2 separate regions of the Homo sapiens genome follow, and region 1 is linked to region 2. Evidence: promoter capture Hi-C in human tissues and cell types (Jung and others, 2019). All regions are on one chromosome and are shown on one strand. The core of a region is centred on a gene start or on the middle of the fragment in contact, and the rest is flanking DNA. Distances in the headings are between cores, read along the strand shown. Region 1 has its middle 44 kb from the start of PPP2R2B-IT1. Region 2 holds the start of TCERG1 (transcription elongation regulator 1).

Evidence for each region. Contacts are between HindIII fragments. The study calls those that stand out against the background at their distance.
Region 1: a fragment that was not itself captured here is called in contact with the fragment with the promoter of TCERG1 in region 2 in 1 of the 25 tissues and cell types used here (dorsolateral prefrontal cortex).

The regions. Positions count from the first base shown.
Region 1 is chr5:146,960,135-146,966,521 of GRCh38, reverse strand. It overlaps a transcript of PPP2R2B not described here. Among named protein-coding and RNA genes, the nearest start is that of PPP2R2B-IT1, 44 kb to the right of the region's middle. The HindIII fragment of the contact is 4,977 bases long and covers 1-4,744 here.
Region 2 is chr5:146,444,794-146,450,713 of GRCh38, reverse strand. TCERG1 (transcription elongation regulator 1) reads right to left here and starts at 3,381. Exons shown (of 23, transcript NM_001382548.1): 1 at 3,306-3,381. The coding sequence starts at 3,364. RefSeq lists a silencer at 3,013-3,092 and an enhancer at 3,011-3,718. The HindIII fragment of the contact is 9,033 bases long and covers 1-5,920 here.

The sequences.
Region 1 (6,387 bases), core at 1,007-3,506, 520 kb before region 2:
GGCCTTAGGTCATGTCAGAGGAGGCCGATCTTTGGCTCTGCTCACATAGCCGCAGTGTAAGAATACAGTTCTCAGGTCTTTGTGTCAGTTTGACAACTGCGCGAAGATAGAGGGGAGTCTACATAAGCAGGAACACCCCAGTATCTCCCTGGGCATGGCTGCAAGTCAACAAGCTGAAATCAGTGTGGACAAGATGGACACAACAGCCTCTTCCATGTGTGACCAGGTGACCTGACATAACCTCCGTGATTTCCTTACCTGCATGTGACCAATTCATCCACTAGGTGGCAGTGTTCAATAATAAACAATGACAACATTAACGAGCCTCTGGCCAACACTAATATCGCAGGCAGCCAAAGGACCATTAGCTAAGAACACCAACTACGGTTTTCCTTTCTAATGGGTGTACAGGATTCCAATTCCTGGCTTTGGTATGGTGACAATTTTCTTCTCAATCTCCTTGCATTTTATGTCTGAAATAGATAATGTTTTTAATTGCCATAACCGACCACATATTGTATGCCTGGGGAATGTACAAAGAGCTTTACAAACATTATTGCATTGCATTGCTGTACCAGCTTTGCAGTGAGTCGTACGATTCCCACTTTATAGATGAAGGATCTGAGGATCAGCGAGTAACACTTTGCCTGGATGCACAGCTGGTAAGTAACAGTGCTGGGTTCAAACCTGGTATCGGATGTCAGAGCCTAGCTATTAACCATCATGCTTTCCTGCTATGGATTTTAAGAAGAATTATTATCAAGATAAGTGCATTAGTGCAAAGTAAATTATCTCTGATATTAGGGCATTATATTTGTACTTATAATACTAGCATTCATACTACCAAATGGAGGATTTATGCAGCACTCACCTGGAAGCTGACGCAAAGCAAGCGGGGCCAGCGACACTTCTGCTGATACCTCAGGACAGGGCAGGCATATAGCAGCAGAGTTTTCTGACTATGACTGACAGTTCTGACAAGGTATCTTAGAGGAATGGAGGGCACACTGTCATTATTTTCTTTTTCACGGATTAAAAAAACAAGTCACAGAGAGGGAAAGTTGCTTGCCTGAGGTCCCACTGCAGTTCACCTGAACCACTCTCTGCACTTTCCCATTATCCTGAAAACTGGCTAATCAGAGAAAACCTCAACGTTCTGAACAAGTAAATGATAGTGTGATTCTGGGGAATACCTTCTATGATGTACTGGCAGATAGGGACAAATTATGTGTATGTATAAGAATTCTATAGCTTGAAAAATATTATTATTTTATTTCTGGAGGAAACAAACATATGGCTTAAATTTTCATCTTATATATTTTGAAGGGAGTTGGTGGATGATTTTCTTTTGGGAATCTAAGCCTGATTCTGCCATCAAACTAACTGAGTGACTGTGAGTAAGTTATTCCTCTCTGGGCCTCAATTAAGAGGATGAGATTAAGAAAATATAAACACACAGTTTGTCATGATGTTCTGGTGTGTAGCCCCATCAATTCCATATGTTTAGGTGATGGTATGCTAGAATTGGAAGGAAAGTTAGAGACAAATGGTATATTATCTTCATTTTACAGATGGGAAAACTGAGCCCCAGAGAGGAGTGACTTGTTCACAGTCACCCAAATAATAGATGGCAGGACCAGGCCCAGATTCCCAAAAGAGGACCCTTTGTCAACTCCCTTAAAAATATAGGAGATGCCGGTCAGGTGCGGTGGCTCACACCTGTAATCCCAGCACTTTGGGAGGCGGAGGCAGGTGGATCACGAGGTCAGGAAATCGAGACCATCCTGGCTAACACGGTGAAACCCTGTCTCTACTAAAAATACAAAAACTTAGCCTGGCGTGGTGGCGGGAGCCTGTAGTCCCAGCTACTCGGGAAGCTGAGGCAGGAAAATGGCATGAACCTGGGAGGCAAAGCTTGCAGTGAGCCAAGATCATGCCACTGCACTCCAGTCTGGGTGACAGAGCAAGACTCCGTATAAAAATAAAAATAAAAATAAAAATAAATACAGGAGCTGAGAACTTAAACCAGAAGCTTTTCTAGAGTGGGCTGTTGCGGGCTGGTCCTGCAAGATAAAAAAAATATCCTAAGGTTAAAAAATCTGCGAAGCACCAAGTCAAACTATTTAGCAGGACATGCCAGAAGCGTTAATATGCTAATGTTTATCATAAATCTCCCAAAAGGGAATTAGAGTATTTATATTTTGCCAAAATTGTTTAACCTCAAACTGTTTTTTCATTTTTTTCTTTGACTGTCAGATCTATGAACAGCTCACACAACAGTGTTTAATGGAATGCAACTGGGAAACACCAACTTAATTTTTGTTTTCTCAGTTTTCTGACGTATTTAGCCGTGGAATCTCATGTTTAAGAGGATAATAGGATAAATGTTTTGGGGAGCATACTTAGGAATGGCTTCACTGAGCAATGGACAAGGCAAAACTATCTTTGAACCCCAGTGTCCAGCTGACTTAAGGGCTACATTTGGATGGCCTACATGCCTGGAGAAGGTCAAGTATCATCAGAGGAAATTCAGCCTTGAGAAGGGTAAATTATTCATAATAGAGAGCTGTCTTTGTAAGAACCTTCTGAATGAGACCTGAAAGGTCAAGCTGTTACAATTGTTCTTTTTAGAGGACAACTCCTTTTATACAATATTTGAGAAATTAGCACAGATAGTAAGAGTTTAATACAATGAGTTAGGGAGTTAATGTCATTAAACAAAGCCAGAATTTTAGAAGTCAGACCAATATGGATTTGAATTTAGGCTGTGCAAGGTGTTAGCAGTGTGACTTTTGGCAAGTTACTCTAATTGACCTTCAGACTTCTTAAAATGGGGATAATAACATTAGTAAAAATTGGGATAATAACATTATCTATGGGAAAAAAAATGAAGACAGGAAATTGAAGGTGCCGTATATGTTCAGAATAATTGCTGATAAACCCCTTGGGGAAAAACTTGGGACCCCAAAGAAATGCTCAACTAACACAATATGTTCAATTAAGTGTTCTGCAGGGCAAAAGGATAAGAAATTCCAAGTGTGAGTGGAGGACTAACCTGGAAGTTCAGGTAGGAGCCAGTGAGTGGTGAGGCAGAGAGCAAGACAGGAGAAGGGGAAAGAGAGAAAAAACCTCACTTCACCCTCCAGATCCCTACTCCGTGGTGGTGCTAAGAAGAGGAACTCTGAGAATAAAAATGTTTGGGAGGAATTTTCACATGAAATTCCCTAGGCGATGTCAGCCCAATGTTTCACTACACAAAACCTCCATGAAGACAGCAAATCTCATGCAATGATTGTCTGCACTGATTCTGATTTTGATTTGATTTGATACCAGGTTATAACCACCACAGAGAGTTGTATAAGGACTCATAGGAAATGCCCCTAAATGGGAAGCAAAGCAAAGAGCTTGAGGTGTAGCTCACTTTATACAATTTGTTCTTGAATAATTGCCCCAATCCAATTTGTACACATTGAATCTTTTCTTGTTGAATTGCATCATCATCTCAAAGATGAGTCAGCACAGTAAAGGGGCCTGTGTTCTCTATTCAGCTCCACTAAGAAAGTCTGAGTGCCTTAGCCAGTTGCTCAGTCCACTGGGCCTTTGTTCATTCACCTGTAAAACAAGAGGTAGCAGGCATGGTGACTTATGAGACACATAATCTCATAAAAATGAGTTTGAAGTCATTGAGACCTGAGTTAGAGTCCCAGCTCTGCCACTATCTAGCTTTGGGCCTTTGGCAAGTTCCGCAGCGAACTTGAGGGTGATGAGAATCAAATAAGGTTATACTTGTAATTCTGAAATGGTATCTCTGATTGGGTCATCAATTGGTATTGGCTCCAAGGACTTTTTGCTTTAAGGTTGTTTTTTTTTTATTATTTTTATTTTTGCCCAGTCTGGAGTGCAATGGCGTGATCTTGGCTCACTGCAACCTCTGCCTCCTGGGTTCAAGCTATTCTCCTGCCTCATCCTCCTGAGTAGCTAGGATTACAGGTGTGTGCCACCACGCCCAGCTACTTTTTGTATTTTTAGTAGAGACGGGGTTTCACCATGTTGGTCAGGCTAGTCTCGAACTCCTGACCTCGTGATCCACCCGCCTTGGTCTCCCAAAGTGCTAGGATTACAGGCATGAGCCACCACACCCAGCCGCTTCCTTGTCTGGTTTTAATGCACACACATTCTCTTTCTCTCTCTCTCTCTGTCTACCAAATTCTTCTACCTTCTTCTGAAAAACAAAAGAGAAAGGAAACATTGGAAGCAAAGAGGAGGGAATGGGAAGAGTTGGCATGATCAATTTGAACTGACCCAAAGAAAAAAACAAGTGTATTGTGCTTCACAGCCTAAGTGTTTCTAGGGCTCAGAGTACACGTGTGGAAAGAAGAGCCCCAGCCATGTGCAGACTCAGAAGACCATACTAGATGGGAGTATGGGGGCAGGGATGTTGCGAAGAGTTTATTAACTCATTCCCTTCTTTTTGAAGTTCTAACTGGTTAAGAAAATTAATCCCAGACTAGCTAAATAAGCTTTTGCCAAAGTGTTTTCTGTTGAAAACACCTTAGATGGTGACTCCTTAATTCATTCTGTTCTCTAGGGACACACACAAGCAATGACCAGGAATTGCCAAAGCTAAAGTGAGTCAGACCACTTTATTTGACTAATAGGGACACCATAGAAAATCCCTTTTGCTTTATGATCCATTCCTTTGAAAAAAAATCTCCTCCATGGGGGACCAGTGTCTTCCTGACTATGGATTGCTTAAGTTTAAATATCCAGTACTGATGTTGGGCAGATTTTGGGCTGAATGCTCTCTGTAGATGACTGAACCAAATTTCAGGCTATAAAAATGGGTTTTCAATGGGTTAATACTCTTAACATATAAAAGGCATCACCAAACAAATATGAGGAAGGACAAGAAAGTACAATTTATGAAAAAGAATACACACCTGATAGTTATATGGAAAGGTGTTCAAGCTTCCTAGTAATTAAAGGAACAAAATATTAAAATAACAATGTGGTGCTAATTTTTACCTATCAGGTAGGCAAAAGTTAGAATCAAAAATAATATTTAAAGTTGTTACAGATAGAGCAAAATAGACACTTTTTTGGTGAAATAGTACATGAATACAATCTTTCTAGACAATTCATCAGCATGTAGCCCAGGCATTAAACATGCATGCCACTGGCTCAGCTATTCAACTTCTTGAATTTTATTCTAAGTAAATAGTCATAGAAACATAAGATTTACCTACATTGGTGTTCATCATAGCCTTCCCCCTTCCTAAGCGTTTTTGTTGCTGTTATCGGGACAATTTAAGTGTTTATGAAGATGATACTGATACAATTATGGTACAACTGCATAATGGAATACTCTGTGTGCTTTAAAAATGATAATGCAAATACATATTTACAGTATAACTGGAAAAAAGCAAATTATACAACTAAGGTAATATTTCTTTAAACAACAATGGTAATAACAATAATATTGTTTTCATAAGAGGATAAAAGCTGGGGCAAGAGTTGTACAAAAATGTTAAGCCTGGTTGACTCCGGTGGGATGAAGAATAATTTTTACTTAAAATTATTTTTTCTCTATTCCTGGAATTTTACAATAGGCATACATTGGTTTTATAAATCATATAAATTAAAGCATCAGGGAGGAGCTGTGAGGTGTACCTTCCACAACGAAAAAGGGCTTGCAGTTTCAGCATGCAAGAAATCATGCCTGTCTTTTTATTTGATTTTAAAAGTTACTACTTTTCCTCAAATATGTAAAAATCTGTCATCTAGGATCTACGGCTGATCCCCTGCCTGAAAGACACATTAACCAGAGCTCAGAATCTAATTTGGTTAGGTTTTTGACTACATTGCTTGGTCCATTTTCATGCAGGTCTAATGGTTTTCCATTCTAATTACTGTGCTTCTGTCTTCTGTCCTGCTCAAACTCTGAGCGACTTTTATTTAAAAGATCTTGCACTTTGGGAGGCTGAGGCGGGTGGATCACGAGTTCAGGAGTTTGAGACCAGCCTGACCAACATGGTGAAACCCGCTCTCTACTAAAAATACAAAAATTAGCCGGGCGTGGTGGCCTGCGCCTGTAACCCCAGCTACTCAGGAGGCTGAGGTGGGAGAATCGCTTGAATCCGGGAGGTGGAGGTTGCAGTGAGCCGAGATTGTGCCACTGCACTCCAGCCTGGGTGACAGAGTGAGACTCCGTCAAAAAAAAGCATGTGTATGTCTTTTCTTTACACATGTAACCAGATAGTATCTGAGTGATGAAATGCCTTTTGTAGCAGAAAAAAGGACTAGGGACTATCCTGGATACTCTCAATAGAGCCAAGGGAATCTGAGTAAGAACCTAGGAGGGAGAATTATAGTCAGGTAGGTCTAGAA
Region 2 (5,920 bases), core at 2,132-4,631:
TGAAGTTGCCATTTTCTGATGTTAATTACGCACAGAACATGGGCTGGGCTCTTTATATTATACTGCTTCATCACAACAACCTCACCAGAACCTGCAATGAGGATTAAATGAGCTAATAAAGTACTTGGAATAGTGCTTAGTATGTAAGTGCTATCTAAGTTATTAGCTATCATTACTGTTTCTGTAACATTAGGACAGTAATAGTACTGGTAAGTGTTAAATAATATTAATATTAGTAATGTTAGCTATTATTACTATAATTATTATATCAGGCCCTGTATAACCTGGCCCACATTAACCTTTCCACAAATTCTAGTCTTTTCCTTTAAATATTTCAAGTTTATTACTTTGAAGCCTCTGCACCTGTTCTCTTTGCCGAGCATGTTCTTCCCCAGATTTTCACATAACTAGCTCCTTCTCATTACTCAGCCTCTAGTTCAAATGTCACCTCAAACTGTTTTCCCACTTCTGGCCTCTACAGGCCCTCTCAGGATCATTATTCCTAATTTGAGTTTTCGATTATGATAAATGCTATGAAGAAATCTCCCATTTACTTCTGTATTATCTTTAGCCACTAGTATATAGTTCCCTTTAGTATACTGTTGCAACACATTAAAACACATTATTGTTTTAATAATGATAGTAAAGTTCCTATATACCAGCATGGTTATACAGACATTATCCGTATTAACTCTTAATCCTCACTACAGCCCAATAAGGTAAGTTTGACACCATTTTTACAGAGGAAATGATAGCACAGAAAAATATTTTCTTAAGGCAGCTAGTCAGTGATAACACCAGAATATTCTTATTCTCATTTTATAGATAAGGAAATTTAGATTGCAAGTATCTTAAGTATTGATAGGTAAACAAAGGCTCTAGGGAAAGGATCTATACAAATGACTCTGGAAGTTACTTTAATGGTATTTGGAACGTCTATAAATTTTCCATCTATTGTGATTTGCATTCCTACCACTTACAACCTTTCTGAAAAACAAAAGCCTACTTGCATGAATAGAAGGAACAAAAATATTTCACAAGAACATCATGGAAATACAAACATAAGGTATTTTTCTACAATAGAAGTTCTCTATCCAGATATGCAATCTCCCCAATGCTAAAGACAATACTTTAACTGGAGGGGCAAGAAATAAAAAGATGCTACCGATATATGGGGGCAAATTGTATAAACTATGATTGAGGAGACCTGAGGTTTAGTCCAGACCCTGCCAACTACCCAGTGACCTTGTGTAAGTCACTTCACACTTACAGGCAGATTTAATCATTTGATGTGGTTGATTTCATTTACAATTTAGATGGCTCTTACTTAAGCTGGAAGCTCCTGCAGGACAAACCTCTTTTTTCGGTCTGGTTCAGGGCACTATTACCAGCACCTAGGTCAGCAACTGTCATGTAGCACACAATAAATGTCGGCCCAATAAGTGAAGTATCTTTAAATCTCCTATCTTCATTTATTTACAACATAACTACAGAACATCTCATTTGCCAGGCGGTTATGACAGACACACCATGAAGTACATTCAGGTTACAAATATAATGCAAAAATTAAGCCCCAACTTCTGCCATCAAAGAGGCCACATACACACCTAATTTCATGAGAAATGCTAAAATAAAGATCTGTACAGTATGCTCTGCAAGCAACTTCCAATCCAAGAGGCTACGGTATAAAATATTTGCAACAGGGCAAATTCATTTGCAAATTAAAGCTCTATTCAAATCAGTTGTGCAACAGTGTCTAGACTATTAATAAAGCCATTTGGATTTTTTTAAAGCTTTAGAAAGATACTTTCTAAAATGCAAAAGAATGTTCCCTAATAAATCCATCTGAAACTAGCTAAGTAACCTCCCTTTAAGATCGAAATCAGGAATAAACTTGGCATCGCTAATATTTAAAGATGCTGACAATTCACCTTGATCACTCATTAATACTGTATACATATGGAGTTTAAAGGATTTCAGATTCATCTCTGAAATAAAACAAAATTTCATTTCTGCCAAAGTGGAGATTTGTGTGTGCGACCATACAGAATCTGAAAGGCATTTTCCTCTTCTAAAACCTTGAATAACAATACCCATTTCCTTACACAATTTCATCTTAAGTTCAAGACAGTATCAACAGAGTCTTCATAATCTACCCTGCTCTTTTTCATTTTCAAACGTTGACAACAGCACAATTCAGAATGGGAGCTGAACATCTGAAATGCCATTTCTCCCATACAGAAAAAAACCAAAGTACCAAATACACATAAAGCATAATACCTCTTTTCCTCAAAAACCACTGACCAAAAGATTTCTCCAGGTCACTCTCATTTTACCAAATTTTAATTACAAACTCATAGACACTGAGGTTCCAGGGGAAAAAAAGGTCACTGCACTGTTCAAGGAAATGGCATGAGTAGTAGACGAATAGAACGCCAATTGGGATTGCAGGCTCTGAAACCTGACTGCCTGAGTTCAAGCCACTTCCTGGAGCCACAAATCCGCCTATGCAATCTTATTCTACTGACTCAACCTCCACGAGGCTGTTATCTCACCTGTAAGATGGGCGAGTAACAACTGAAGACCCCTCTGGTCTGTGGCCTGCAAAATGTTAATAGCAACTACTCCAAAGGGTGGTTGTGAGGATTAAATGAGACAAACCTAAGTAAAGGGTTTACTGGCACACGGTAAGTGCCTAATAAGGGGTTGCTACTGTTGTTGTTACTCACAACTACAGGATAATAAGGAATAAAGGGATGAAAAAAGGAAGAAAAGCCACAGAAGTTAAGAAAGGCAAGCAATGAGGGGGATGAAATGAAAGGGCAAACGTGGGGAGCCCAAAGAGCCGCGGAGGGCGTGGAGAAGGCTTAGCCAGAAGTGGCGAGGGGTACAGGGAAAGTAACTGCGGAGTGCAGAGACGTCGATGAGGAAAATCAGGCCCGCAGCGGAGCGCGGCCTGGGGACAGACTCAGGTCGGCCGAGACGGAGGCGACACGCGGCTGAGGCGGGGCCCAAAGGCGGGAGCACCGCGCCCGGCCAGAGGGCTGCAGGCCGCGAGAGGCGGCGAGGCCCCAAGAAAGCACTAGGAAGCAGCCAGGGAACGCGCAGGAGGCCCTGGCCCAGCCCGGGCCCGGCTCTCATTCAAGCCACCTTCCCCTTCCCCCTTCTTAAACCCCATGCGGTCCCGGCCCGGGCCGCCCGGCTCCGCTACCCACCGTCCGCCCCGGATCTCCACATGGCAGGTCTAGCGTCTAGCCTCTGGGGCTCTCGTGAGCAGAGATGTGAAGGAGGGCAGCGTTCCTTACCTGAGCTCCCCCGGGTTGAATCGTTCACTCTCGCCCCCGTCCCCGCCACGCTCCGCCATTACAGAGGGCCGCGTTCATCCACCCGCCGACCCGACGTCTCCTATTGGCTAGAAAAATCGTCAATCCCCAACGAGAGAGGCGGAGACAGCAGAAGTCTGAGATGCGGTTGGTCAAACTTTCCATCAATCTTCGAAATGGGGGCGATATGTTCTTTGCTATTGGGCAAGGCGCCCGCCGACTTTGAAAGCGGTATGAAGACAGCCAGTTGATTGGTGACTCGGGGGCTTTATGGGAAATGAGATTTTAGCAGTGAGGAACCGCCGGCGCCCTCTCGCGGTAAGCAGAACTAAGTCCTCCCAAGTTCGGCTCAGCCTGCGGTAGCCACGTGTCTGTCGGCTTCCAGGAGAGCCAATTGTGGAGCCATATTGGCCAGTAGTAGCTCAGGCGGAGAGCATTTCCACTGGGCAAGCCAATCAAAATCGACCTGGGCCGCGCCTAAACCGATTGCACAGTTGCTGTGGAAAGCCGCTATTTCCTAGCTTTACAGTAGCAGGAGTCTTAAGTCACCACTCAGCTCTATATCCATGTTATTAAATAATATATTATTAATTACAAGAATACCTCCCAAATTATACTAAACCGTTGCAAGCCAATAGGTGTTATAAGTTGCTGCATTAAGAAAGGTAAATTGGCGAAGGCAAGCCTCTTTGCAATTTACAGCTTAACCACGTCTCCCTCGATCTCAAAATGTGCTTGTCTGAAATTAGCACACCCAGAATACCAGACAATTCTGAATATTTATTTAGTTTTTCTAATTAACAAAAAAAAAAGTTTTGGATTTGGGGTTTCAAAGGCACAATGAAGATGAGCCCTTTTATTAAAGTCGTAAAAATATTAAAATAATACTAATAGATAAATTTTACTTGGACCTAACCATGTAGCAAACCCGGATCTAAGTATGTCAGGTACGTTAACTCTTTTAAGATTCAAAAATTGCTAGGAGGTGGGTAACATAGTCACTGTTTGTAGATGAGCTTGAGGCACAGAGAAGTTAAGTAACTTGCCCAAGGTCACACATCTACTAAATAGCAGAGCCTGGTCTTAACCCCAGTCAGCGTAGTAGCAAAGCAGCACTCTTAAATACTGTAAGCCTAAATAATTGGATCCACATAAAAACATGTGCACAAATGTTCACAGCAGCAATATTCATAATAGCCAAAAAGTATTGTAACAACCCAATGACCATCAGCTGATGCATGGTTAAGAAGCATGGTATAGGCCGGGCGCGGTGGCCCAAACCTGTAATCCCAGCACTTTGGGAGGCCTAGACGGGCGGATCACGAGGTCAGGAGATCAAGACCATCCTGGCTCACACGGTGAAACCCTGTCTCTACTAAAAACAAATAGCCCGGCGTGGTGGCGGGCGCCTGTAGTCCCAGCTACTCGGGAGGCTGTGGCAGGAGAATGGCGTGAACCCCGGAGGCAGAGCTTGCAGTGAGCAGAGATCGCGCCACTGCACTCCAGCCTGGGCAACAGAGCGAGACTCCGTCTCAAAAAAAAAAGAAACATGGTATAACTGTACAATGAAATATTGTTCAGACATAAAAAGCCACATACAAAAAGGCCGCCTGTTGTATGATTCCATTTACATGAAATATGATGAAATTGCATTGCATTTCAGGCAAATACATACAGACAGAAAGTAGAACAGTGGTTTCCAGGAGGTAGAGGGGAATGAGGAATTGGAAGTGACTGCTGATGGATATGGAATGTCTTTTTGGATGATAAAAATGTTCTGGAATTGGCGCTGATGGTTGCACAACTTTGTGAATATACTAAAACCCATTGAATTCTATACTATTTATTTATTTATTTACTTATTTTGAGAGGGAGTGTCACTCTGTCACCCAGGCTGGAGTGCAGTGGCATGATATCAGCTCACTGCAACCTCCGCCTCCCAGGCTCAAGCGATCCTCACACTTCAGCCTCCCAAGTAGCTCCCACAGGCCTCCGCCACCACATCCAGCTAATTTTTTATATTTTTGGTAAAGACGGGGTTTTGCCATGTTGGCCAGGCTGGTCTTGAACTCCTGAGCTGAAGTGATCTGCCCACCTTGGCCTCCCAAAGTGCTGGGATTACAGGTGTGAGCCACTGCATACAGCCAACTCGTATACTTTAAAAGGTGAATTTTATTGTATGTGAATTATATTTTAATTCAAAAACACCATTCTACACTGAATTCCAGTTAAATATTCAAAATCAATTAAATATGATAAATTGTGATAAAGGCTTCACACAGTTCTGAGCATGAGTAATTGGAGGAGAGCATGGTGAAAATTTTGTTAAAGATGTGACATTTGAGGCTGGGTGTGGTGCCACAGGCCTGTAATCCCAGCACTTTGGGAGGCCAAGGCGGGAGGACTGCTTGAGTTTAGGAGTTTGAAACCAGCCTGAGCAAAATGGTGAGACCTCACCACTACAAAAAATCAAAAATATTAGCCAGGCATTGTGGTGCATGACTGTGGTCCCAGCTACTTGACAGGCAGAGGTGGGAGGGCCGCTTGAGCCCACTTGAGTCGAGGCTACTGTGAGCTGTAATTGCAGCACCGCACTC